Regions from separate parts of the Homo sapiens genome. Here all the other regions are linked to region 1. Evidence: promoter capture Hi-C in human tissues and cell types (Jung and others, 2019). All regions are on one chromosome and are shown on one strand. Each heading gives the region's core, a stretch centred on a gene start or on the middle of the fragment in contact. The rest is flanking DNA. Distances are from core to core; before and after follow the strand shown.

Evidence for each region. The method cuts DNA at HindIII sites, captures the fragments that hold promoters and counts their contacts. A contact is called where the count stands out against the background at its distance.
Region 2: the fragment with the promoter of KMT2B here is called in contact with the fragment with the promoter of CLIP3 in region 1 in 3 of the 25 tissues and cell types used here (IMR-90 fibroblasts, spleen and thymus).
Region 3: the fragment with the promoter of IGFLR1 here is called in contact with the fragment with the promoter of CLIP3 in region 1 in 5 of the 25 tissues and cell types used here (aorta, liver, mesendoderm cells and 2 more).
Region 4: the fragment with the promoter of ARHGAP33 here is called in contact with the fragment with the promoter of CLIP3 in region 1 in 1 of the 25 tissues and cell types used here (pancreas).

What each region holds. Positions count from the first base shown.
Region 1 is chr19:36,029,701-36,036,419 of GRCh38, reverse strand. CLIP3 (CAP-Gly domain containing linker protein 3) reads left to right here and starts at 3,547. Exons shown (of 14, transcript NM_015526.3): 1 at 3,547-3,696; 2 at 4,005-4,228. The coding sequence starts at 4,063. All of the region lies in intron 3 of LOC101927572 (a long non-coding RNA gene), which reads right to left. THAP8 (THAP domain containing 8) reads left to right here. Exons shown (of 4, transcript NM_152658.3): 4 at 828-1,436. The coding sequence ends at 980. RefSeq lists a silencer at 648-821. The HindIII fragment of the contact is 12,641 bases long and covers 1-6,719 here.
Region 2 is chr19:35,714,215-35,720,933 of GRCh38, reverse strand. It overlaps KMT2B (lysine methyltransferase 2B), which reads right to left and starts at 2,931. Exons shown (of 37, transcript NM_014727.3): 1 at 2,553-2,931; 2 at 1,393-1,465; 3 at 1-1,150. The coding sequence starts at 2,915. It overlaps ZBTB32 (zinc finger and BTB domain containing 32), which reads right to left. Exons shown (of 7, transcript NM_014383.3): 3 at 5,427-6,411; 4 at 5,104-5,177; 5 at 4,927-4,995; 6 at 4,637-4,801; 7 at 3,896-4,456. The coding sequence starts at 6,307. The coding sequence ends at 4,182. RefSeq lists silencers at 2,497-2,546, 2,597-2,676, 2,717-2,786, 2,807-2,856, 2,937-3,416 and 1 more and enhancers at 2,142-2,699, 3,987-4,266, 3,819-4,378. The HindIII fragment of the contact is 20,092 bases long and covers 1-6,719 here.
Region 3 is chr19:35,739,774-35,745,253 of GRCh38, reverse strand. It overlaps IGFLR1 (IGF like family receptor 1), which reads left to right and starts at 2,802. Exons shown (of 5, transcript NM_024660.4): 1 at 2,802-2,858; 2 at 4,031-4,230; 3 at 4,690-4,874; 4 at 5,166-5,480. The coding sequence starts at 4,074. U2AF1L4 (U2 small nuclear RNA auxiliary factor 1 like 4) reads left to right here. Exons shown (of 6, transcript NM_001040425.3): 2 at 42-129; 3 at 833-931; 4 at 1,109-1,242; 5 at 1,350-1,445; 6 at 2,451-2,727. The coding sequence ends at 2,535. RefSeq lists silencers at 1,124-1,284, 4,587-4,716 and enhancers at 2,620-3,049, 4,397-4,506, 4,854-5,480. The HindIII fragment of the contact is 13,678 bases long and covers 1-5,480 here.
Region 4 is chr19:35,772,780-35,779,498 of GRCh38, reverse strand. ARHGAP33 (Rho GTPase activating protein 33) reads right to left here and starts at 3,935. Exons shown (of 21, transcript NM_001366178.1): 1 at 3,835-3,935; 2 at 1,757-1,854; 3 at 1,591-1,675; 4 at 1,139-1,219; 5 at 898-1,035; 6 at 375-467. The coding sequence starts at 3,840. RefSeq lists enhancers at 592-1,476, 1,477-2,362, 4,384-4,443 and a silencer at 3,674-4,153. The HindIII fragment of the contact is 39,613 bases long and covers 1-6,719 here.

The DNA of each region.
Region 1 (6,719 bases), core at 2,298-4,797:
CCTATAGTTCTAGCTATTTGAGAGGCTGAAGTGGGAGTATTGCTTGAGTCCAGAAGGTCAAGGCTTTAATGAACTGTGATTGTGCTACTGCACTCCAGCCTGGGTGACACTGTGAGACTCTGTCTCAAAAAAAAAAAAAAAAAAAAAGTCTGGTCTTTCCTGAAGGCTCTGCATATCTAGCAGCACTGGGCTTGGATTCTCAGGTGATAGCAGTTGGCTGGAGCTACAGTGTGGCTGCCTCTGGGGCCTTGAAGTTTGAGACTGTGGCCTGGGGCACAGAGGGACAGTGGGGCAGGGACAGAGCTCAGACTCGGGCCTGGGGCTCTTTGTGGAGCCTGCCAGATCCCCTGAGCTGACTGCCTCTCTCTGCCTCCCCTCCTGTCATTCAATCTCTGTCTCCTACTCATCTATCCCTACCTCCCAATCTCCTCCCTCCCCAACATTCATTGTCTTTCTGCCCATCATCTCTGTCCGCCACCTGTTTCCCCACCTCCCTGTGTCTCTCTTTATCTGCATATTTTCTGTCTCCCCCATATCTCTGACCCTGTCTGTACGTCTGTCTGCCTGCACATCTCTTTCCCCCACGTGTCTGCGTCTGTGCCCCCGCACTTCTCTTCCCATTTCCCCACCCTTCTTTCCTTTCCCATGAATGTCTCTCTGGCCCTCACATCTGCTTTCCTGTCTCCTCATATCTCTCCCCACATCTCTCTCTGTTTCCTGACACGCCCTCCTGCCACCTTTGCCTCCCTGTTCCTCACCGTTATCTGTCTGTCTCTCCCGCAACTTGCTTCGTAATGTTCCCCATCTCTACCACTTCTTTGCCTTAGACAACAGCCCAGACCCTTGGACCTGAGGAATCCCAAACCTTCACCATCATCTGTGGAGGGCCTGACATAGCCATGGTCCTTGCCCAGGACCCTGCACCTGCCACAGTGGATGCCAAGCCGGAGCTCCTGGACACTCGGATCCCCAGTGCATAAGGATCAAGACAGACAATGTCGAGGGACAAAAGATAGAAGATGGAGGAGGAAAGACATTATACGTGGGCTTGGCCCAGCCCCACCGCCCACGCCTGGGTAGTAGCAGTGCCTCCCTCAAGGGCCTGGGTTCTACCACCCCACTCCTAGGGATCTCTTGAACCTTAGGGGTGACCTGGGCCCAAGTCTCTCATCAGCCCCCAATCCCCTGGGTACCAGGCTTCTGCCACCCCCGGCTCAGATCTTTGCAAATCAGTACGACAGCCTCAGAGCAGAGCAAGGGTTGTTTGGGAGAATCATACCTGGTTCTAAGGAGTCCCACGCTTTTTGCCAAGCCTGGTACTGAGTTCATGATACCATGGTGGACACAGCTGAGAAAATCCCTGCCCTCATGGTGCTCATTCTACTTGAGTAGACGATGAACTAGTAAACAAATAAACAAGAACACTGCAGACATGAGCGATGAGTGCTATAAAGACAACAAAAATTTGGTTTGGGCCTGGGGGAGGGCCCTCCAAGGCCATGTTTTAGCAGAAACCTGGGTGATCAGAAGGGGCTGGCCTGGAGCGCTACAGGCTCAGGTTCCAGAGGACGAACAACCCCTGCAGTGAGGGCCTGCTGTCTGGGATGTGTCAGGTCTGGGAGGCGGTGTTGCTATGGAGAAAACCATAGTAGGGAAGGGAGGAAGGGGTGCAGTTTTAGAGCAGAGAAGGTGAAAAGACACCAACAAGTAAGATCCTAAAACAGGGCAGAGAGGGAGCCACGTAGGGATTTGGAGGAAGAGCATTCCGGGCATCACAAAGAGCCGTTGCAGGCCAGGCACGGTGGCTCACGCCTGTCGTCCCAGCACTTTGGGAAGCTGAGGCAGGCAGATAACCTAAGGTCAGGAGTTTGAGACCAGCCTGGCCAACATGGCGAAACCCCGTCCCTACTAAAAATACAAAAATTAGCTGGGTGTGGTGGCACAGGCCTGTAATCCCAGCTACTCGGGAGGCTGAGGCAGGAGAATCACTTGAACCTGGAAGACAGAGGTTGCAGTGAGCAGAGATCATGCCACTCCACTCCAGCCTGGGGAACAGTGAGACTGCCATCTCAAAAAAAAAAAAAAAAAAGAGCCAGTGCAAAGGTCCTGGGGTAGGGAGAAGCAAGGAGGCCAGTGTGGCTGGGGTGGAGTGAACAAAAGAGGGTGAGAGGAGGTGAGTGCAGAGATGATGGGGCAGGTTCACATAGGCCCTTGTGGGCCATGGCTGAGAGCCTTGGCTTCTACCTGGAGTGAGGTGCAGCAGGCAGACCCCTCTGAGGGAAAGAGGGCTCCAAAGTGACAGGTGTTCATGGGTCCCTGTGGCTGCATGTTGGAGGAGGACGGGGACAGCAGGTAAGAGGCTGCTGCCGTAGTGCTGGTGGCAGAAGAAGAAGGATGGACCAAGATGAGGGCCCAGGGTAGCGGTGGGGAGAGTGAGATCCTGGAAATCTTTTGGAGATGGAGCTACTGGACCTGTGCATTAGAAGGATGAGGTGTTCAAGGCTGTCACCCAGCCCCATCCAGGCTGGGATGATTTGAGGCAGAGCAGGCTACAGCTCCAGGTGGGAAGCCAAGCCATGACAATGGAGCCAGGACCCTGGGCTGGCTTCAGGAGGCCTCCGTGGGGAAGATACAGGTTCTGAGAGAGTTGGAGGGGTCAATCGGCAGATCTGTTTCCCAGACACTGCTACAGGCATGTAGCATGGTGATTAAGAATCAAAGCTGGGCATGGTGACTCGTGCCTGTAATCTCAGCGCTTTGGGTGGCAGGGGCAGGAGGATCCCTTGAGGTCAGGAGTTCAAGACCAGCCTGGGCAACATGGCAAAACCCTGTCTCAAAAAAAATTCTCCAGACATGGTGGCATGCACGTGTGGTCTCGGCTACTCGGGAGGTTGAGGTGGGAGGATGGCTTGAGCCCAGAAGTTTGACGCTGCAGTGAGCCAAGATCACAACACTGCACAGTAGCCTGGGTGACAGAGTGAGACCCTGTCTAGGAAATAATAAAAATAAAAATCAGACTTTACAGACTGTCTGGTTTCAAATGTTCGCTCCATCACCTACTCATGTACTTTTGGGCAAGCTGCTTAACCTCTGGGCCCCAGTGTGTGAGCCTCGCATTATGATGGTAAGGATGAGATGATCATGATAGGAGTCTCTAGGAAATCACCCCTCTGAGGCACCCATTATGAATGGTGAGCTTGGAGAAGGGGTCCGGTCTAGGGTCCTAGAGAGAGGGTCCCCTAGAGGGTCCCCATCGTCACCACGCCCCAAGACCACTGCCCTCACCGGCCTGGTTTGCAGGCGTGGGGGAAGGGGATGGAGAAGATCTGTGTCCGCTCTCTCAGCCCTCTCTTTTGCCGTTGTATCTGCTCATCTCGCTCCTTTCCGTAGCCATCTCTTCCTCTCCCAGTGCCCGGAGGCTCTCCCCTTTCAGTCGCCGCCTCTGGCCCCTCCATCAATGCGAGCGCCTCCCGGTCCCTCCTCCTGGTCCCTCCTCCCCCGCCGCCGGTAGGGGGGCAGCAGGCGCATGCGCAGTCGCGCCCCTCCCTCTCCGCCCCCACCCCCTGTCGGCGTCTGGGCCTCGTCCCCTTCTCTCTGTCTCCCTTGCCTCCCCCATCACGTCCCCTGACACCGACACCCCATTGCTCCCACAGTCTCCCCAGTCTCCACTTTGGTCCCCAGCGCTGTCTGCCCGAGGTAAGATGGGGAGGGGGCGGCCCGCGGAGAAGGGGAGGGGCGAAGCATCCTGAATCCCGAGATAAACAAACCCGGGGAGGGGGCAGCCGCGACTGAGGGGCCTGACGCGGGAGGAGAAGAATGGGGGGCTGGGCCTGGGGGAGGTGGCAGGCGCTGGGCGCACACACCGGGGCCCTCTATGGGTAACGGGGGTCCCTATGGTTGCCCAAGATCCAGTTGCGCGGAGGCCACCCGGGGCCCTGGAAGCTCCTAGGGGCTTGGACCCTGGAGCCTGCCGGGCACCCTCTCCAGCTGACCTCTGCCTCCAGGATTTGCCTGAAGGCTGCCCCCAACTCTGCACCCGCCCCCCGAGGGCCACCGAGGACCATGACTAAGACAGATCCTGCCCCGATGGCCCCGCCACCCCGAGGAGAGGAGGAAGAAGAGGAGGAGGAGGATGAACCCGTCCCCGAGGCCCCCAGCCCCACCCAGGAGCGCCGGCAGAAGCCTGTTGTGCACCCCTCGGCACCTGCCCCCCTCCCTAAGGACTACGGTAACCACTGTCCCCACCCTGGAATCTGGCCTGGAGCGTTGGGTGGCCGGGGAGGGTGGGCTGTGCTCTGCTGGTGGTGATGGTGGGAGAATTCTGGGGAATTTGAAGGTGGTCCAGAGGAATCTTGGCTGCAGAGCACCCCTCGTTAATTCATTCATTCACCCATTGGAGAATGGAATTGTAATACTCCTAGTCTTTGACTCATGACACATCATTCCATCATTTAGTCATTCAACAATCATTTTTTGAAAGCGGCTGTGGACCTGGCTTTATGCTAGGGGCTGGGGCCACAGCAGGGGGCAAGAGAGACCCAGTCTTTGCCCTGAGACAACTCACAGGCCTCAGTAACAGCCACACAAATAGGTATTAAACCATAATGTAATTTTTCACATTTAGGTTTATATGCAAGAAAGAAAAATATAATGTAATATAAATATGTAATTACAAGACATTATGAAAATTGTATTTACCATAAACAAGCTGCTGCAAGAGTTTTTTAAGACATTGTTTCCCTGAGGAGGTTACAGTTGAGAAGACTGGAGGGTGAGTTGGGGTTAACTAAGAGAAGGGTCAGGGGAAAGGGCTCCCAGGAGAGGTAACCGCTGGGTAAAGGATCTGAGGTAGGAGGGTATGGAGCTGAGAGGGCGGCCTCTTGGAGAAACTGAAAGTGTCTAATCATTGACCGAGCGATATTTATCGAGTGCTGCTACTCTGTGACAAGCCTTATGCTGGGTGCCGGAGATTTAATCCTAAGTGATCCAGGCATGATCCTCCCTTGCAGGAGAGAAGGAGAGACTAAACAAGTGAACAGATAAATAAATCAGAAATCAGATAAATTCAGATTGGAGCAAGTGCTATGAAAGAAAGAAAAGGTGGGCTGGGCATGGTGTCTCACGCCTGTAATCCCAGCACTTTGGGAGGCTGAGGCCAGCGGATCACCTGAGGTCAGGAGTTTGAGACCAGCCATGGCCAACATGGTGAAACCCCATCTCTACTAAAAATACAAAAATTGGCTGGGTATAGTGGCATATGTCTGTAATCCCAGCCACTCGGGAGGCTGAGGCAGTAGAATCGCTTGAACCTGGGAGGCAGAGGTTGCCCAAGATCGAGCCACTACACTCCAGCCTGAGTGACAGAGTAAGACTGTCTCAAAAAAAAAAAAAAAAAAGAAAAAAAAAAAAAAGAAAAGAAAAAAAGAAAAAAGAAAAAGAAATTAAAGGTGGAGATACGATAATGACTAGGGGGCAGCTACCTGCAGGGGTAGTCAGGGCTGCTCTTTCTGAGTAGGTAACATTTAGTTTGGGACCCAGAGCATGGGGAGGAATCAGCCATAAGAGAGCTGGAAAAAGAGTGTTCCAGGCAGACAGCAGCAAGTGCAAAGGCCCTGAGGCAGAATTGAACTTGGAACAGAAAGATCCTGGAGCTGCATTCAGGGAATGATCGAGGTTGAGGTGAGAGGTTGGCATAGGCCAGATCTGGAAGGGCCTTCAAGGCTACAGTGAGGACTTTGGTTATATTCTAAGTGGGACAGGGGAGAAGAGTGGCAAGGGGAGGGTGTTTAAGAGCAGAGGAGTGGCAGGTCTGATTTGTAGTTTGAAAGCTCCCTCTGGGTACTGGGTAGAAGGGGATGGAGTGCAGCCAGAGTTGGATGTAGGAGGGGAATTTGGAAGATATGCAGGCTGGGAATCCCCGGCAGCTGTGAGGTTCAGAAACCAGGTTCAGAGAGTCAGCGTTGCCAGGATAGAGCAAGACAGATGGCATCCATGGACATGTCACCCACTAGAGGTAGATCAGGGAGACTACAAGTTGACTTCAGTCTAATAGAAAAATAAGAAAGTTGGCTAGGCACAGTGGTTCTGGCTTATAATCCTAGCACTCTAGGAGGCCAAGGTGGGAGGATTGCTTGAGGCCAGGAGTTCGAGATCAGCCTGGGCAATGGAGCAAGACCCCATCTGTACAGAAAATTTAGAAATTAGCCAGGCATGGTGGGTACCTGTAGTCCCAGCTACTCCAGAGGCTGAGGTGGGAGGATCACTTGAGCCTGAGAATTCGATGCTGCAGTAAGCTAGGATTGCACCACTGCACTCCAGCTTGGGTGACACAGTGAGACCCTGTCTCAAAAAAAGAAAAAAGTAAAAGGAAGTTATCTGGGGCCTGAGGTCGGGGGGGTGCTGTACCTCAGAAAACTGGAAAATCTCCTTTGGAAATGCAGCTGGAGGTGGCTGGGGCCTCTGACTCAGTGGGAGGTCGGAGGGTATAGGCTGAGCCCTCCAAGCAGTCTTGCTTGTAGAGCGGGAGAGGTTTTGTCCCAGAATGTGAAGAAATCTGGAAATGTGGTCGAGGACAGGGAGAAGGCTAAGGTGGACTCCAAGAGGAAATCATGTATCTGTTAAATTTGTACATTAATTCAACAGAGATTGACTGAGCACCTACTGTGTGCCATGTGCTGTGCCTGGCCTTGGGGATAAAGGAGTGAATGAGGCAGAATAGA
Region 2 (6,719 bases), core at 1,682-4,181, 310 kb after region 1:
ATAATAAACTGCCGGATATTCTTCAGGAAGGTGGTGCTTTTGGGGGCCACGGTGGGACTGTCTTCCGGAGGGCCTCCCGTGGCGGTGCTGGGGGTTGGAGTGGGAGGAGAGGTGCCCTCTGGCCCTGCCCGAGCAGCTTCCCGCTCCGCCCGCTGGCTGGGAGTCAGGGGAGGCCGGCCCCTCTTCCTGGAGCACGTAGCTGGGACCACAGGAGGAGGGGATTCCTCCTGCTCCTCTTGGGCAGGAGGCGGTGGAGGGGATGGTAGAGGTGGTGGGGACACTGGGGGTGGTGGTGGAGGGCAGAGTGGGGGTGGAGGAGATGTCGAAGGGGGTGGGAGGGGTGGAGGAGGTGAAGGGGCTGGAGGAGTCAGAGGCGGTGGTGGCAGCTTTGCCTCTTCCTTTTCCGCAGCTGGCATCATCTCCTCAGCTACAGCTCTTTCTTCCTTCTCTTCTCCCTCCTTGTCTTTTTCTTCTTCTTCTTTCTTCTCTTCTTCCTCGTCATCCAGCTTCTGTTCCTGCTTTTTCCAGCAAGGGCTCCCTCCCTGTCCAGATCCAACTCTTCTTTGGGGGACATCCTGCCAACTTTCCTCATGTTGACCTTGACCTTGACCTGATTCGAGTCCCAAGGACAATTGTCCCATCTTTACTTTTTTGGCCCTTGAAACAAACTTGATCACAAAGGGGAGCCCACCACCTCGGCCGCGGCCCCTGCCTCCACGGCCTCCACGGCTTGACTGTCCTCCACGCCTGGGGGTCCCAGGTCCTGGACCGGGCCCCTCCTTGCATTTCCAGCTGCCAGTCTGATGTTTCACTGGAACCACAGGAGGTGGGGGCTCAGGTTTGGGGATTGTCACAGCTGCTTCTGCCACCACTACTGCTTGCTGCTTCCTCCTGCAGGGGCCTGCTGGCCGTCCTGGGGGCCGTCCCCGAGACCGCCGGGGGGTGGAGGGCTCACATGCCCGGCTCCGGGGTGCTTGGGGTGCCTGGGCCCGCCGGAGAAGTTCAGTCAGTGCCTGCACCATCCGTTCTGTGCCTTCCTCACCCCGTTTCCGGGCAGGGGTCTTTGGGGGGGTAGGAGCCACATCTGCTAGGCGAGGAGGAGGAAGGGGGGTCGTCTTATGCTTGCGACCCCGACCTCGGGGCGCTCGACCTAAAAGGAGAATAGTTGTGGGGAGATGGATCAAGCCAGCCCTACACACAGAGGAAGGCGCTCCAGGAGGGCAGGGACTAAGTCTTGCTTGTGTGTTTCCCCCGCTGCCCAGACTAGCTTGGACTCTGAACACAGAACACATTCGGCAACTGACAGAGGCTAGTTGAACAGGGAAGAGCTGACACGAAGGGCGAGGATAAATTCCTGTGACGCTAAAGAGGTGGAGTTCCCCCGTCACTCACCTCGCTGGGATCGGAGCGCAGAGCGCAGGGAACTGGGGGCCACATCTTCATCTGAATGAAAACCCTGAAACTCCTGATTTAGGGGACCGGGGTGGAGGGGAGAAACAGCAGTCAGTGCCAAAGCCCTCGTTCCATCTGAGGTATCGAGGAATATCCCCAGTTCCCACTTAGCATACCCCTGCCTATTTAAAAAGAACGAAAAAGACTCAAAGGTCGCGGGTAGTGGAAGAGAGGGTCTCTCCCTAGGGATGGAGGCGCCAGGTATTTCGAACTCCGATCCCCAGTGCCGGACCACACCAGCACAGCCAAAGCCATGGTTCACTGGCCCAAGAGAGAAGACGACAGGGTCTCCTCAGGAAAGGCAGCAGGCCCCATACTCAGATTCCTTCAGAGTCCAATTCAGACCAAAGTGGGACCTCCACTGACACCCTTTCGGGCCACAATTTATTTCTGCATTAAGTTGGGAACAGGGGCCCGCAAGTGAAGGGGCGGGGAGGGCATCAGATGGCTTTCGTACAGGCTCCACTGCGAGCTCTCAGGTTGTTATTAACCGTCCAGGGCAACGCAACCCACACCTTCCTGCCTGTTCTGAAAGGCTGGGGGAGAAATCCTGAGCTGAGCTCTGACCTGCTAGAGTGCCCAGTCCCGGCCTTCATCCCACTCCTGTTCAACCCGAGCCCCAAGAGGAAGCCCTCCACCACTCTACCTGAGATGCCAAGAGAAACTGGGGCCCTGGAGAAACCAGGAGGTTGCGAGGCCCGGCGGGGCGGCCCACAGGTAAGAGCCCAGACAGCTCCAACCTGTCTGCCAAGGCCACGCTGCCGCTGTCAACCACGACTGGCTGGACATGCAGTCCCCACTGCCTCCTCGCCCAAACCTCCACCGCCCTAGCTTTGCCAGCTGCCGAAAAGGATCGGCCCAAGACACTTCAGCGGGACCGACATCGGGCGCGAGTGCCTGGCTGCAGCCGGGGCTTCTCTACCCACTTCCAGAGGCCCTTTCCCCCGGAAGCTGCATGCAGCCGCCCTCCCTCCGTGCCCCGTCTCTCCGAAGGAACCCTGAGGACCCGGCCTGCCCACGCCGCCCCCGGGACAACCCAGACCCCTGGAAGCCCCGGCCTCCGCCCCACCCGGCGCCGGGGACGCCTCCAACCGCCTCACCTCCTCGTCGGATTCCCCGTCACTGCTCTCCTCCTCCGGCACGCAGCCTCGACTCGGGCCCCAGCCCCGGCCCCGACCCCGTCCCCGGCCCCGCTGGACCCGCGGGCCGGCCCACAGGCGGCGGAGCCGGCGCAGGCCCCGGCGGAGCCCCAGCAAACGGAGCAGGGCCGTGTCCTCCCCGGGCTCGGCTCCGCCCGGCCCCGTCGCGCCACCGCCGCGCCGCAGAGCTACCCGCACTCTTTCGGCCCCGTTGCCCCGTCCGCCGCGGCCCCCGCCCCCGCCGGCGCCCCGCGGCCGGCCCGGGAAGCGGCCCCGCGCGGAGCCAGGCCCGGGGCAACTGCCGCCGCCCGCCGCCGCCGCCATCTTGGCACCGTGAGAGGGGCCGGGGAGGCGGGGGGAGGGGCGGCCCGTGCGCAGGGCCGGGGGGAGGGGAGAGAGCGGGGGCGGGGCGGGGCGGCCGCGGCGCACGACAACAACCAGCGCCGCCGCGGGAGACCGGGGGCCGGGCCGGCCACGCGCAGGGCACCACGGGAGAGGGAGTCCGCGGCCGGCCGGCGCCCTCGGACCGCACCTGGGGAGCACAGACCCCCGCGTCGCGGCCGCAGAGGGGCGAACCGCGGGGGCCTCCGGGAAATGTAGTCCGGACGCCTCGCTTCTTCCGCCGGCAGCCAGGGCGCGAGGGCCGGGACGGCGGGGTTCCCGGCCAGGACCCGGAAAGCGGGTTGCCGGGTCTCCGGGAGGTGTGGTCCTAGCCCCAGGCTCCTCCCATTGTTCTTGGCTAGGCCGGCGGCCCGCGTGGACTACCACTCCCAGGGTGCCGCGGGCTCGGGCCCCGGGACCCCCGAGGCCCTGGGAAATGCAGTTCGCGGCTGCAGGAGGCGTGGGCTGGAGAAGGAGCGGTGGAAAGCATAGTCAGTCTCCGTTCCAGGCGCGACCTGGCGGCGGCTTGGCACGGTGTGGAGGGAAGACGCCGGAGAGGCCGCGGTCTCGGGGTCCGTGTGCTCCCGGAGAGGAGGCGGGTGGCCGAAAGCAGGGTCGGAGCACGCGTTCCTCTCTCTCCCGGGCCGAGCGTTCCCAGATCAGACTCCGCGCGCCGTGGATTGCAGTGGAAGGGGCGAGTGACTTGCGGTCGCACAGCCCCCACCAGTCCAGGACCGGCATGCCGCAAGGTGTGCCCGGACACCGAGTCCTCGGGGCCGGCTGCCTCCTGGGGAGGACGGGGCGCCTCGGGGGTGGAAGAAGTGTCCATCCCGCTGGACAGCGGACGCAGGGCCACCAGGGGCCGCTACAGGACAAGGGGCGTGGGCGGGGGTGTGCACAGACTAAACTCGGCTTTCTAGTCCTGAAGGGAGGGCACAGGAAACTCTTTATTATGGTGATGAGATCGACAATCTCCCCTACTGTTAACCTTCGCTCCTGCACACTTCAGTGTCCTCACTCTGTAGGGCTCGCTGGCCTGGGCTTCTGCGACCCGCGATCGTCCAGGAGAGGGCACTCGGCGCCCTTCCTGGGGCGCTTCTGGGGCGGAATTTGCTAGGCCGCCGTAGCAGCGGTGCCAGGTCAGAAGCCGAGCCGGCCCGCTTTTCGTTCTTTAATTGGACTCTTGGCTAAGACGCTACCGACACCCCGTCAGGTGGTGGAGGAAGAAGGACAACAGGGAGAGGTCGAGGGCCGAGACGGCCTCGAGGAGGAGTAGAGGAAGGTGGAGCGGATGGTCCATCCGGGCGGGAGTTGGCTGGGCGAGTGACCGCGCATGTGCGCCTGCATGGAGGCCAGGCTGGGACAGCCGGCCCCGCACAGGGAGCAGCGGTACGGAGCGGCCCCGTGTGTCCGCAGGTGCTTGGTCATGGCCGAGAAGTCCCGGGAGCGCTGAGGACAAAGGCTACAGGAGAAGGGCTTCTCTCCTAGAGCGGTCGGAAGGGGAGGCCGGTGAAGGAAGGAAGAAGGCGGCGAAAGCTGGCCAAGTTAGGGGTGGATCGGGCCACGGGGCTAGGGGATTGCGCGGGAACCGGGCACACAGGTGGAGACTCAGGAGCGGAGTTGGGAAGAAAGCCGACAGTTCACACAGGGCAGGGCGCCCATACCTGTGTGGACTCGGTAGTGCGTCTCCATCTGATGCTTGAGTGAAAACCTCTTTCCACAGACAGAGCACGCATAGGGCCGAGACCGAGCAGGAGGGGCCGGGGGAGGGTGCGGGCGAGGTGGGCAGCCTGCCTTGTCCTCATGACCCGCACAGGTTGCAAGTGCGCCTGTGGGGACAGAGAAGGCAAAGGAGGGCAGGGCCAGGAATCCCAGCGCCAACTCACTGTACCATTCAGGCAGGAAATCAAGGGCTACAGTGGGGCTGAGGCACGAGTGCCCCCGCCCGACTCACCTGTGTGCCCCTGATCAGACTCTTCCATCTCCCCAGGGCTGAGCTGTGCGGGGCCCTGGGGGAGGGAACCTGGAAGGAACAGTGGGAGGTAGGGGCCCTGCTCAGGCTGGACTCCTCGAGCCCCAGCCCAGAGAAGACACCATGTTACAGGTGTATGCAGGACAGCGAGGGGCTTACCTGGGGTAGGGCTGGAGGAGGCCAACTGGTTCTGGCTCCAGAGCCCTTTGGGGGCATTTAGGGACAGTGGGATCCTGGGATGGGGTGGGGAAGAGTTACAGCCTTGGCTAAACCTGGGAGCCTGGCCCCTTCGTGAAGAGGGGGTATCCCAAGTCCTCCCCCGGGGGCTGGGCTTTGGCGTGCCCTGTGGCAGCAGCTTCTTGTCTCTTCCCCAGCTCAGGAACTGTGCAGTAGAGATGCAGTGCCCTTCCACCCAGCAGGGCTGCCCCTCCTGGGCCATGCCCTCCCAGCCTGGAGGCAGAGCACTAGACCCCGCCACTCACCTCTGTTCCCGCCAGACCTCCTGCCAGGCTCCAGTGGTGGGGGTGCTATGGTAGAAGGGAATGCCATATCTGGGCGGCATCAGCAGGATGCTCCACAGGGCAGGCTGGCCCCCCACCAACCAAGGGGCCTCAGCCCACGAGGGCCTAGGGGTGACGCTGGTTTGCAGGGAGCCTGCTGGGGGAAGGGGGCCAGGGAGCTTGCGCAGACTTTCCTCAGAGCCCCCTGGATTTTCCCTCAACCACGTGAGCACTCCATGCTTCCCATCTGCTCCCCTTTGGCCAACAGGGGCTTGGAGGCGTTTCTCCTTTGACCTGGTCTGTTCCTGCTGAGCCTCCTGCGTTGCTCCTGCCATCTCGGGTCTGCCTCTTGGTGGCGAGTGCTTGTGCAACATCTCCTGTTCTCTCCCACCAGTTCTAGAAACCTGTTCTGGTTTCTGCTTCTCTCCAGGGTCCCCCAGTTCTCTCTCAGGATTCCTTGAGGGTTTCTCTGGCTCCTCCTGATGTTTCTTCAGGCCTGGATCTGGCTTTTTAGCCCTGTCCCCTCGAGCCCTCCAGCATGCCTCTTCCAGGGACTGCACTCCCAAGGCCCTGGCCGCCTCCTGAAGGGGCCTTAGCTCTCCAGGCTGCAGCTCTACACTCTCCCCATACACAAAGTTCAGGAGCTGGGCAAAGGTAGAAGGGCTGATGCCTTCTCCCAGAGCCCACTGGCCCCTGCGGCCCAGCTGCTGGCTGACACCTGCTAGCACCAGGCTGTGGGCGGGGAACTCCTGGCTCCCTACGGTGATCAGAGTATCACAGAGTGCTGGCCGGAGCCTGGCTGCTAGCTGTACCAGCCGATCAGAGCCATAGGGGCTGGGCAGTCTTATGGGGGGCAGGGACATTGTGCCTTGGCTTGGGTACCTAACTCAGAGGCTCTAAGAGGAAGTCCACAGTGTGAGGTCCATGGTTGAAAGGGGAGGGAGGAACATCTCATCTCATTTCAAGCCTGTGGATGTGAGGGGAGAGGGTGTGAGTTGCTGGTCCTAGATCAGAGCCCTCTGTCCTGAGTGAGCAAATAAAGTAACCCAAGAGAGGATTGGAGCTTATCCAGAATCATAGCAGGTAGGCATGGTGGCGAGAGAATGGAAATCAGACCAAATTCAGGACTTAAAGAGCAAGGGCCAGTCAGTTAACAGAAATATCTAGTAGTGGGTTTAAGACAGGCGTGCGGGAAGTCTGCCAGTTGGCAGTCTCTGACGTAAAAGATAGCAGATACTGCCACTTCTGCTTCTCCAAGCCCCTCTGCAGGGAAAC
Region 3 (5,480 bases), core at 1,553-4,052, 290 kb after region 1:
CCCCGGCCCTCGGTTCACCTTTGTCTTTGCACCTTTTCCAGGGTTAACTGCTCTTTTTACTTTAAGATCGGGGTCTGCCGGCACGGGGACCGGTGCTCCCGGCTTCACAACAAGCCGACATTCAGCCAGGTGAGACCCGGCACGGAGCCTCGGGGGTTAACGGCTCCCTGGCCCTTCCCCTTCTGGGGCCGTCGTCACCATGTCCCGCCTATTCCGGGTTCCTGAGTCCCTCCCCACCGCCCGGCTTTTTTTCTCATTGGACCTTTCTGCAGGCTCCTCCCACCGGTCTTCGTGCCGTTTTCCCGGGAACTTGGTCGCGCCCCCATGCGTACAGGCTACACACGGCGGCTGTTCATCTTTGCCAGTCCCTTCCATCCCGCTGTTCATCCTTGCCAGTCCCCTCCATCCCTTTTCTGGTTTCTTAGGGGCAAAGGATCGCCGATGCACTCATGATGCTTAGGCTGGGGTGTAAGGTTCCACCCCCAACCTTCATGCCTCACTCTCTGTTCATGCAGCCCTGCCCTCTGAGCTCAGGCCCCGCCCCTTTTAAATTCTGTGCAGACCATAGTGCTGCTCAACCTGTACCGGAATCCACAGAACACAGCCCAAACTGCAGACGGATCACACTGTGAGTAAGGGACCAGGCCTGGGGGCAAGGTGAACAGCCCCCAGTAGGCTACACTCTGATTCCACCCTGCCCGCCCCCACCCCAGGTCATGTGAGTGACGTGGAGGTGCAGGAGCACTATGATAGCTTCTTCGAGGTGAGGGTTGGTAGGGGCAGATGGGGTTTCTTGTGGGAGCTCAGCTGAGTTCCTCCCCGTCTTCCACAGGAGGTGTTCACAGAACTGCAGGAGAAGTATGGGGAGATTGAAGAGATGAATGTGTGCGACAACCTTGGGGACCACCTCGTGGGCAACGTCTATGTCAAGGTGCTTGCTGCCCCCCACTTAGGGCCCAGAAGTGGAGGCGTTTCAATGCCTGATGGTGGCCACTGTAGGCTCTCAGCTTGAATTTCATCACTAAATCCAGTCCAGCCCCAGAGCGGGTAGTGAGTCCCCTGAAGATCTCTGAGTTCTCCTGCTGACCCTGACTGACATTTCCTGCAGTTCCGGAGGGAGGAGGATGGAGAGCGGGCCGTGGCTGAACTCAGTAACCGCTGGTTCAACGGGCAGGCTGTGCACGGTGAGCTGTCTCCTGTCACTGACTTCCGGGAGTCATGCTGTCGCCAGTATGAGATGGGGTATGGTAGTTCAAGGGTGGGATGGGCACTTGGAATCCCAGACTTTGAATGCGTGGTAGGGGCTGTCAGTGACAATGGCTTCCTCCATCTCTCTACCCTCTATGCAGGGAATGTACCCGAGGTGGCTTCTGCAACTTCATGCATCTGCGGCCCATTTCCCAGAACCTCCAGAGGCAGCTCTATGGGCGGGGACCCAGGCGCAGGTACCTCAGGACCAGCCTGCTATGTCTCCTCATGTCCTAAGGCCCCTATATCCTCAGATGAGCCTAACCCTAAGCCCCAGTAACCACGTTCCCAAGAATCTTTTTTTTTTTTTTTTTTTTTTGAGATGGAGCCTCACTCTGTTGCCCAGGCTGGAGTGCATTGGCACCATCTTGGTTCATGGCAACTTCCGCCTCCCGGGTTCAAGCAATTCTCTGCCTCAGCCTCCCAAATAGCTGGGATTACAGGCACCTGCCACCATGCCCGGCTAATTTTTGTGTTTTTAGTAGAGATGGGGTTTCACCATCTTGGCCAGGCTGGTCTGAACTCCTAACCTCGTGATCCACCTGCCTCACCCTCCCAAAGTGCTGGGATTACAGGCGTGAGCCACCACTCCCGGCTGACTGTTTTTTTTTTTTTTTTTTTTTTTTTTTTTTGAGACGGAGTTTTGCTCTTCTTCCGCAGGCTGGAGTGCAAAGGCGCAGTCTTGGCTCAGTGCAACCTCTGCCTCCCAGGTTCAAGCAATTCTCCTTTCTCAGCCTCCCAAGTAGCTGGGATTATAGGCACCTGCCACCATGCCTGGCTAATTTTTGTATTTTTAGTAGAGATGGGGTTTCACCACGTTGGCCAGCCTGGTCTCGAACTCCGGACCTCAGGTAATCCACCCATCTCGGCCTCCCAAAGTGTGGGGATTACAGGCGTGAACCACTGCGCCCGGTCATTCCCAAGACTCTTATACCCTAAGAGTAGTTCTGAGCTCCATCTGGAGACCAGTACCTAAGTCCCAATCCCCAAACCAGCCTGAACCCCTAATCCACGACCAGCCTGGATTGCCACCCCTGATACTGGCCACTGAGTTCCCCTGATACTGGCCACTGAGGTCGTGTCTTAGAACTCTAGTTATTTCAGCACCCTCCTGCCTCATCCCAGAGCAGAGAGGCAGGCCTGCAGGATCTCTGCACCACTCCTCAGGGTTCTAACAGAACTCTCAACGCTCCTATTCCCAGGTCACCCCCGAGGTTCCATACTGGCCACCATCCCCGAGAGAGGAACCATCGGTGTTCCCCTGATCACTGGCATGGCCGCTTCTGAGGCCCTGGCCCCCTTACCCTTCACCCCCAACAGGGACAGATGTTCCTGGCAGGACCTCTCCTCAAAGCCCCCTTCACTCTCCTGCCCCATCCTTCCCAGGCTCCCGGGCTCCATAATGTAATCTGTTCAGCATGGAGACCTTCTTCTACCGCCCCTGTCTTAATAAAGCTGCGTGTTTCACTTCGGCATCAACTTGCTTTTGCTGTGGTTTGGCATTTCCCTCCACCCACACATGTGACGAAAAGGGGAAACAAGACTGGGTCCTGGCCACAACTTCAGCTGAGGAACTTGGCACGGCCAGCTTGGGACCCAGGACCCTAACGGTACTGGTAGGGTGGGGACACCTTTGTGCTGAAAACCTTAGCACCTCCATCTGAGGCTTATTCAAGGGGGAGAGACCTGGTTGTGGCAGGTGGGAGGAGCCCTAGCCCCAAGGAGATTAGGATTCAAAGGTGAGGTGAGGTGCTGGGAGGTGGTCTCCAGCCAGTATGGGGCTGACTCCTCCGTGCCTGCCGAATTGTGATGGGAGTTAGTAATGCCTTACACTTAAACACTGAGTTTACTGTATGTGAGGTGCTGTTTTCAGCACTTTAGTTTGTTTTTGTTTTTTTTAAGGAGTTTCATTCCTGTTGCCCAGGCTGGAGTGCAATGGCACGATCTCAGCTCACTGCAGCCTCCACTTCCCAGGTTCAAGCAATTCTGCCTCAGCCTCCCAAGTAGCTGGGATTTACAGGCATGCGCTACCACGCCCGGCTAATTTTGTATTTTTAATAGAGACAGGGTTTCACCATGTAGGCCAGGCTGGTTTTGAACTACTGACCTCAGGTGATCCACCCACCTGGGCCTCCCAAAGTGTTGGGATTACAGGCATGAGCCACTGCGCCCGGCGGCCAGTTTTTTTTGTTTTTAGAGATGAGGTCTTGCTGTGTTGCCCAGGCTGGTCTGTAATTCATGGCTCAAGCAATCCTCCTACCTTGGCCTCCCTAGTAGCAGGGACTACAGACGTGAGCCACTGCACTTGGCAAAGTGCTTTGCTGTTTTTTTTTTTTTTTTTTTTTTTTGTAAAGATGGGGTTTCATTTTGTTGTCCAGGCTGATCTCTCGAACTCCTGGGCTCAAGTGATCCTCCTGTCTTGGCCTCCCAAAGTGTTGGGATTACAGGCATGAGCCACCACACCCAGCCCCTGCTTTACTTCTAATGACGGTTCTAATTCTCCACAATAACCCTATGAGACAGGTGCTATCATTGTCTTATTTTAGGGATGGAAAAGGGAGGGTGGGTGGGTGAGGACACGGCAGAGGTGGGATATGCATTCTTGCAATCTAGATCCGCAGCCCTGTTAGTCCCCTAGTGGCCTTGTGGGCTTCTCTGATAACCGGCTCAGTTGGGGGATGAGGGCTCGGGGGTAGATTCCCGGCTTCCGAAGAGGCGTGAGAATTCTGTTCCCCCACATCACCGCGTCCTTTCTTCTGCCCGATTTCCCCGGAAAGTGTAGCAGAGGCGCTGTGTTTGGAAGTCCCGCTATCACGGCCCCCCAGATGGGGCCTGGACGATGCCTCCTGACGGCCTTGTTGCTTCTGGCCCTGGCGCCACCGCCGGAAGCCTCCCAGTACTGCGGCCGCCTTGAATACTGGAACCCAGACAACAAGTGCTGCAGCAGCTGCCTGCAACGCTTCGGGCCGCCCCCCTGCCCGGGTGAGAATCCGAGACCGAGCCTTGCTTGGGCGGAGCTTGCAGGTGATAGGGAGCGGGGAAGGGGCGAGGTCTGTGGGCTACGGGCCAGAGAGGCTTGCTTAGGGGTCTAAGCGGTGGGCCTTATGCAGATCAGACAGGGATGGCAGGCAGAGCCTGTGCAGATAGTGCGGGCTACCGTAGGGCAACAGCGAATGGATATGGCTGGAGAGGCGGGATAGGGGCCGCGTGGAAAGGGTGGGCTTTATGTAGAGAAGCCGGGAGTGGGCGGAGCTTCGTGCGGAGCAGGCTGGAGGGGGGTGAAAAGGCGAGCCCGGAGAAAAGTGACAAGACCGGGGCGCACGCTAATAGGCTGGAAGCGTCCTGGAGGGGCGGGGCACGCTGGGATAGGGCGAAGGGAGAGGGCGTTGCCCGCGCAGGGGCGGGCTAGGCGGCCGCACTGGAGCGCAGCTTTCCCGCTAGACTATGAGTTCCGGGAAAACTGCGGACTCAATGACCACGGCGATTTCGTAACGCCCCCGTTCCGAAAGTGTTCTTCTGGGCAGTGCAACCCCGACGGCGCGGAGCTATGTAGCCCCTGCGGCGGCGGAGCCGTGACCCCTACTCCCGCCGCGGGCGGGGGCAGAACCCCGTGGCGCTGCAGAGAGGTGCAGATGGGACTCCCGGCAGGGCAAGGGCGTGCTGGAGGTGGGGGGCCTAGATGTAGGGAGCCGGCGTAGCCCCACGTAAGGGGTGGGGCCGTGGTTTCAGGAGGTGGCTGGCCTGCAGGGGTCGGGAGGTCCTAGGTTAAGGTAGTTGGGCCTTGCGGGGCCCAACTACCTTATCAGATACCGTATCAGATGGGATGTGGCCCCATTAAAGGATATAAAGTTGGGAGGTTTGGGAGCGGGCAGGAGTGGAGTGTGGCCTCCAGCTTTACTCCAACCCCTTATCCCCAGAGGCCGGTCCCTGCCAAGGGGCACTGCCCCCTCACACCTGGAAACCCAGGCGCCCCTAGCTCCCAGGAGCGCAGCTCACCAGCAAGTTCCATTGCCTGGAGGACCCCTGAGCCTGTCCCTCAGCAGGCCTGGCCGAATTTCCTTCCGCTCGTGGTGCTGGTCCTGCTCCTGACCTTGGCGGTGATAGCGATCCTCCTGTTTATTCTGCTCTGGCATCTCTGCTGGCCCAAGGAGAAAGCCGACCCCTATCCCTATCCTGGCTTGGTCTGCGGAGTCCCCAACACCCACACCCCTTCCTCCTCGCATCTGTCCTCC
Region 4 (6,719 bases), core at 2,686-5,185, 260 kb after region 1:
AGATCATGCCACTGCACTCCAGCCTGGGCAACAAGAGTAAAACTCCATCTCAAGAAAAGAAAAAAAACCCCTCTGGTTTAAGCCACTCATAGCCAGGTGTTCTGTGAGTTACAGCCCAACCCATTTCTAACTGATATACATTTAAACCCTTGTATCCTTAAAGCCGAACACCTGCTAACACACACACGTGCACACACACACATGCTCACACACATTCTCTCACAGGCATGCGCCCACACAGACACTAAAATATCAACGCCTCCTCCACTCTGGCTCCTTTCTTTTCTATGCCCACACACACACCGAGGCTGCTTCTCGCCCCTCAGACACCCCCTCACCCACTCGGAATCTCCAAGCCCCCTGCCCAGGCCCACCTCCATCCAGGTGAGCACAGGCCCGCAGTTGAGGTTACTGTCCACCAGTCCTGACAGTGTCTCCAGGTACTGCAGCAGCAGTGGCACCAGCATCTGGGGGCAGGTTGTCAGAGTGGGCCTCTGTGAGTGGACGTGAGAGAGCCCACTGCCCTCCCACACTGCCCTAGCTCGTCTCTGGGCTGAAGTTCATCCTGAACACATGGGTGCTGCTCAGCTGTTAGGTACTGAGATATGGGCATATGAATGAATAAGCAGGCTGGGCCAAGCTCTTGAGTACCCTGGTTGGCATGACCATGGTGACCCTCCCATGGGACCCCCTGGAACTCCCCATGATCCTAAAACTTAGCAAAGCTAAATGTAGCAGAAGCCTACTACGTTTCTAAGGCTTCTCCATTCATTCAGATTGGTTGGGACTTGGGCCATACCAGTATTTAAATATTTCTCTATCCCGCTGCCTTGATGATTTCACACTGTGGATGAGGACACACTCATGAGGCAGGGGCTGAGACAACAAGCAGGTTACCTGGGCAGCCCTGGCACCCTCGGGGGGCGGGGGAAGCTCCGGAAGGCAGGAGAACCTCCGGTCAAATATGCACCGGTGGAGGTGGGCATCCAGGGAACGAAAGTCATCGTAACTCCGGAGAACCGGCCAGGAACGGCCCTGTGGGAGCAGAGGGACAGAAGGGAGCAGGGGCCCCATGACACCGAGCTGAGGACTACAGTGGCCATTCTCTCAGGCTAGATGAGAGGCGGGATGGCCTCACCTGACAGGTCACCTGCACCCCGAACACCAGCTCATTCTCTCCAGAGAGGCTGGGCCCTTCACGGTCTGGAGACAGCAGGAGCTGCAGAGGGAAAGCAAGGCCCAGGTGGACTTTTGTCCCAGTCCTGACCTCCTGGGGATGGCACTATCTAGGGACGGGTTTGTGACTCCCTTCTGGACCTCCCCGAGGACAGGGCCTGGTGATGTCCTGGTCCCTGACATAGAGCAGATACCTAACAAAAGTTGTTGTTGAATGAATAAAAGAACAAATGGATGAATGAATGAGCAGCTCTCCCCATCTGCTGTGGCTCCTGCAACTTTTGCTACTGACTGCTCAGACGCGTGCAGCAGCCAGTCACAGGGATAAGTTTCAGAAGCAAAGCACCTGATATCGTTGCAAGGTTGGGTAGGATATTGTCTTCCCTCCTGGGTGCAAATGCAAAGCCCCCATACCTGAATGTGGCCAAAGTCAACGTTCTCGTAGTGGAAATGGGCGCAGTCAGCCAGCCGCGGGAAGGGGCCTCGAGGAGCTGAGAGCCTGGGAGACAGGGGATGCGTCACCAGCAGCTCCTTGAGTCTCCCCAGCTCCTAGCTGAGCCCTTTCCTCCCTCACCCTCACCTCTTCCCAGGCTTCCCCTTCACACTGGGCCCCCCAGCAGTGGGTAGAGGCTGCACCGAGCCCTCCCCTGGGCCATCCAGGCTGTCAGTGCTGCGTGCCTGTAGAGCAGAAAGAATCAGAGGCCCCCAGAGATGGGAGCAAAGAGACAACGAGAGCATTGTTATCTGGCAGCGCGGGTCCAGAGCCCCGGGCGCTCCACACACCGCCCTGAGCATGAAGCAGGATGGCAGGTCGGGGGAGGTGAGGGCTGGGCTGAGGACAGGACTGCTTCTTCGTGTGTGGTCTGGGGTGGGGGACTGGAGAAGCAGGGGCCAGACGTGAGGCGGGGCAACAGGATGGAGAGCATGCTGGTCCCATCTCTCCCTGCTGAAAACCCTTCCGTAGCCCCTGCAGAGTACAGTGATCTCCTACCACTGTCTAGACAATCACAACTCCCATCTCATCAGCCTTCCTGCTTCCAGCCTCTCCCCTCCTGCCAGCTTTTCCGCAATAGCCTGGATCGTTTTCAGAAAACACAAATCTGGCTCTATTTCTCCATAGATCCTGGGCCTTCAATGACTCCCTGTTGTCTTCAAGACGAAGTCTGAATTCTCTGGTCTGATAATCGAGACTTCCCTGAGCTGATTTCTGTTTACCTCTCCAGTCCCATCTCTTCCCATTGCCCCCACTCTCAGAGCTCTTGAACTTCTAAGAGTCCAAAAAAAGCACCCTCTTCTCATTTCCTTCTAGGCCTTTGCAAAGGCTGTTCCCTCAGCCTGGAACACTCGCCCCACCTTTCCCTGGGTACATTCATCCTCACTCCCACCCCTCAGGTCCCAACTCACATGTGCCCTCCTCCAGGAAGTTCTCCCTGACCCTTCAGGCTGCACCTGGCATCTCCTCTGGACTCTCTCCATCCCCTGAGGTTCCCCCATCCCAGGTTCCATGCCTTGACCAGAGCTTCTCCCTTCACAGCTCTGATCACTCTGAGATGGCACTGGTGGTGACAAGTTCATCTCTCTCATTGGACTATGACCGGCCTCCCAGAAGGAGGGCCCCAGACTGAGCTCCCCAGCATAGAGCTGGGCATTGAGTTGGTGTTCAGACATGATTGTTCCTGATTCTTTTCTGGGTCCCCAGTGCCAGCCCAGTCGCGCGCAGCAGGGACTGGGTAAAATCTGATGAATAAATTAACCAGCTGCCAGACAGATTCACTGGGCTGTAGCGTCTCCCTGCTCCATGTCCCTGCAACCCCCAGTCACCCTCAGGGTCTCACCCTCAGGGTCTGTCCCCCTCCAGCCCATAAGGTTCCCCAAGGCAGGATGGGAGCTGACTCTCTCTGTGCCTGGAGCGTGGGGCCTGCACAGAGGCGGTCTCAGTGAATGTCTGCTAAGTGAGGGAATGAATGGATGAATGAGCGGGAGCAGCATGGTGGGAGAGGGAAATGGTGGGGGAGGGGGATGAGGACAAGGAGATGGAGCAGACCCGAGGATCAAGGGAGGTACAGTGCTGGCCTGTTGGGGTGGAGTAAGGAAGGAGTGGCTGGAGAGACGAGGCAAAGGCTCAGACTGATGCGGGGCGGGGGGGATTGAGAGGAACTGGGATAGGGTGAAAATGAGGGAGAAGGAGAAGAAAAGGGTCAGGCTGGGGATGGAGCGGGTGGGGGGTGGGGCTCGGGAATGAGAAAGGGGCTGTGGGGAGGAGGAGGGGGCTCCGCCGGGGAGGGCTGAGGGCTGGCAGAAGGATGCCGAGGAAGGTGCTGGGATGGGAGCTGGGGAAGGACCCAGGAGCCTCAGGAGGCCCCTGCAGGGGCCACTTGGGTGGCGCGGGTCCCTTCCTGGACTAGCCCCGCCTCCTCCCAGCCCAGGCCCTAGGTCCCTGTCACCCCATCCAGGGCGTGGAAGACGGGGATGCGCGCTTAGGGGGCGGGGTCGAGGTACGGGCTGGGACCCGGGATGGGGCCGCAGGACGGGAGGGACCACGGCTGAAGCACAGGCCGCGGGATCGGGCGGGGCCGGGGGCGGGGCGCGCGGGGCGGGGCTGCGCACGGACAGACTGACATCCGGACGGACAGGCTGACGGCCGCGTGGGACCCTTACCACCATGGTCGCGTAGCCTCCTCAGGCCCCGGCCGCGCTCGACCCCTCGCTCGCCGTTCTCGTCGCCGCTGCCGCCGCCATGGCGACACAAAGGGGAGGGCGCGAGCCGCGCGCGGGCGGCTGCAGACCCCGCCCCTAACGGCTGCCCGTGGCTCCGGCGCGCGCCCCACGGGGGCGGGGGGCAGCGGGAACGCGGCGCTGCTTCTCATTGGCTCCGCCCTTGGCCTTAGGCCGATGCCCCGCCCACCCGGAGGCTTCTCATTGGTTTCACCTTGGGCTCCGCCCCGGCTCTGTGTCCTCGGTCCCGCCCCTCGAAGTTTGACAGCGCCACGCCCATGACTGCTTTTCATTGGCTGTCATCGCCCTCCTGAGACAAGCCCCCAGGTTCTTTATGCTTTGCTTCCGACACTTCCAACACCAAGCAATGGACCCTACCTTTCGTCCACTCCCAGTGTCCATTCTTCTGACTTTTTTATTTTTATTTCTTTAAGAGACAGGGTCTCACTCTGTCGCCCAGGCTGGAGCGCAGTCCTGCAATCGTGGCTTACTGCAGCCTCAACCTCCTGGGCTCAAGCGATACCTCCCATGTAGCTGGGACTACAGGCGTGCGCTACCACGCCTGGCTAATTTTTTTTAGACATGGGGGTCTCACTATGTTACCCAGGATGGTCTTGATCTCTGGGGCTCAAGAGATACTCCCTCCTCAGCCTCCTTTCAAAGCGCTGGGATGACAGGCGTGAGCCACCACGCCAGCCAGCCCCTGATAGTCTTAATTGGATTCTCCCACGGCCTCAGAGCAGTGCCCAGTTCCTTAAGCAGCTTTTCAAAGTCCCAGTCCCAAGTCTCACCTTTTCAGTCCTGATCCCGACCCCGCTCACATAATGCCGAGGACGCTCCGCCCATGGACGTTTCTCGTTGCCTCATATACCTTGCCTAGGACGTAACCCGAGGCTTTCTGCGATTTGGCCTCCCCTGCCCACTGGACATTTTCTTGTTTCCCCTTCTACTGCTTATTACGGGCCAATCTCCAGCCTTGATTTTTTTTTTCTAGGAAAATGCTTAGGGGGAAATGCCAGATCATGCTTATGCCCCCCATAAAGCCATTCCCAATGGAGCCTGCTAATACTGAGCATGCCCAGATAACACTGTAATAACGCCCTTCACAGGAGGGTCTCTCCTTAGTCATGCCCTCAACAAATTCTCATCTCAGAGGGTCTTGGTCTGTTCATTCATTCATTCATTCATTCATTCACTCAAACTCTAATCAATTTGTACATACATCAACAACCAAACCAGGAGAAAATATACCCTGCCCACATTGGAGCTCAAAAGCTACTGGGAGAAGACAATGAACAAAATTAACATTAAACAAAATATAGAATATTAGGCCAGGCGTGGTGGCTCACGCCTGTAATCCCAACACTTTGGGAGGCCGAGGCGGGCAGATCACTTGAGGTCAGGAGTTCGACACCAGCATGGCCAGCATGGAGAAACCCCGTCTCTACTAAAAATACAAAAATTAGCCAGGTGTGGCGGCGGGCGTGCCTGTAATCCCAGCTACCTGGGAGGCTGAGGCAAGACAATGGGTTGAACCCAGGTGGCAGAGTTTGCTGTGAGCCGAGATCGCGCCACTGCACTCCAGCTTAGGTGTTGAAGTGAGACTCTGTCTCAAAAAAAAAAAAAAAAAAAAAAAAAAAAAGCTGGGGACAGTGGCTCACGCCTGTAACCCCAGCACTTTGGGAGGCCGAGGCGGGAGGATCACAAGGTCAGGAGTTCGAGACCAGCCTGGCCAATATGCTGAAACCCCGTCTCTACTAAAAATACAAATATTAAAATTAGCCAGGTGTGGTGGCGTGTGCCTGTAATCCCAGCTACTCAGGAGCCTGAGACAGGAGAATTGCTTGAACCCAGGAGGCGGAGGTTGCAGTCAGCCGAGATTTTGCCACTGCACTCCAGCCTGGGAGACAGAGCAAGACTCTGTCTGAAAAAAAAAAAAAATATTAGAAGGTGATTCATTCTATGGAGAATAATTAAGCAAGGGCTGGTGAAAGGGAGTGCTGAGGGAGAGGTGAATGTGCAGTTACTTATGTACTAAATTTGCTGACCTCACTCTCATCACAGGGATTTCCCACACGATATTCCTTCTGTCTAGTGTTTCCCCATCAACCCCTGCAGTGATTTTTTTTTTTATTTTTTAATTTTTCTGGGTACATAACAGGTATATTTAGGTATATATATTGAGGGGGCACATGAGATGTTTTGATACAGGCATGCAATGTGTAATAATCACATCATGGAGAATGGGGTCCTGCAGTGATTTTAAAACAGCTGCAAATTCTCTGACACTCTTCTTATCAAGACGCGGACTCTATGATTGCTTTCTATGAATCTGGGTGGGACTAGGATAGCTTCAACCAATAGAAAACAGTGGAAGTGACACGGTGATTTCTAAGGCTATGTGATGAAAGGCAATGCAGCTTCTTGACCAATGTTCTCGTCCACTGGAATGAGCTGTAGAACCATGGTGCATCATATGCGAAGTGTGACTATGCTGAAGCAGACATGCTTTGAGGAAGCCCAGGCCAATGGAGCTATGTATAGGCATTAGTCAATAGTCCCAGTCAGACTGGGAGAAGACCACGGAAGAAGTTCTGGAGGATTCTACTCCACAGCCATCAAGTCTATCAAGTCACCTTTGAGTCTTTCCAGGTGAATCCCCAGACATCATGGAGGAGACAAAAATTGTCCCCATATGAGCCCTGTCCAAACCTCTGACTCTCAGAATCCATGAGCATAATAAAATAATTGTTTTATGCCACTAAGTTTTGGGAGCGGTTATCCAACTAGAGTAATTAGGACAGCCCTTTGTTAACTAGATAATTTCT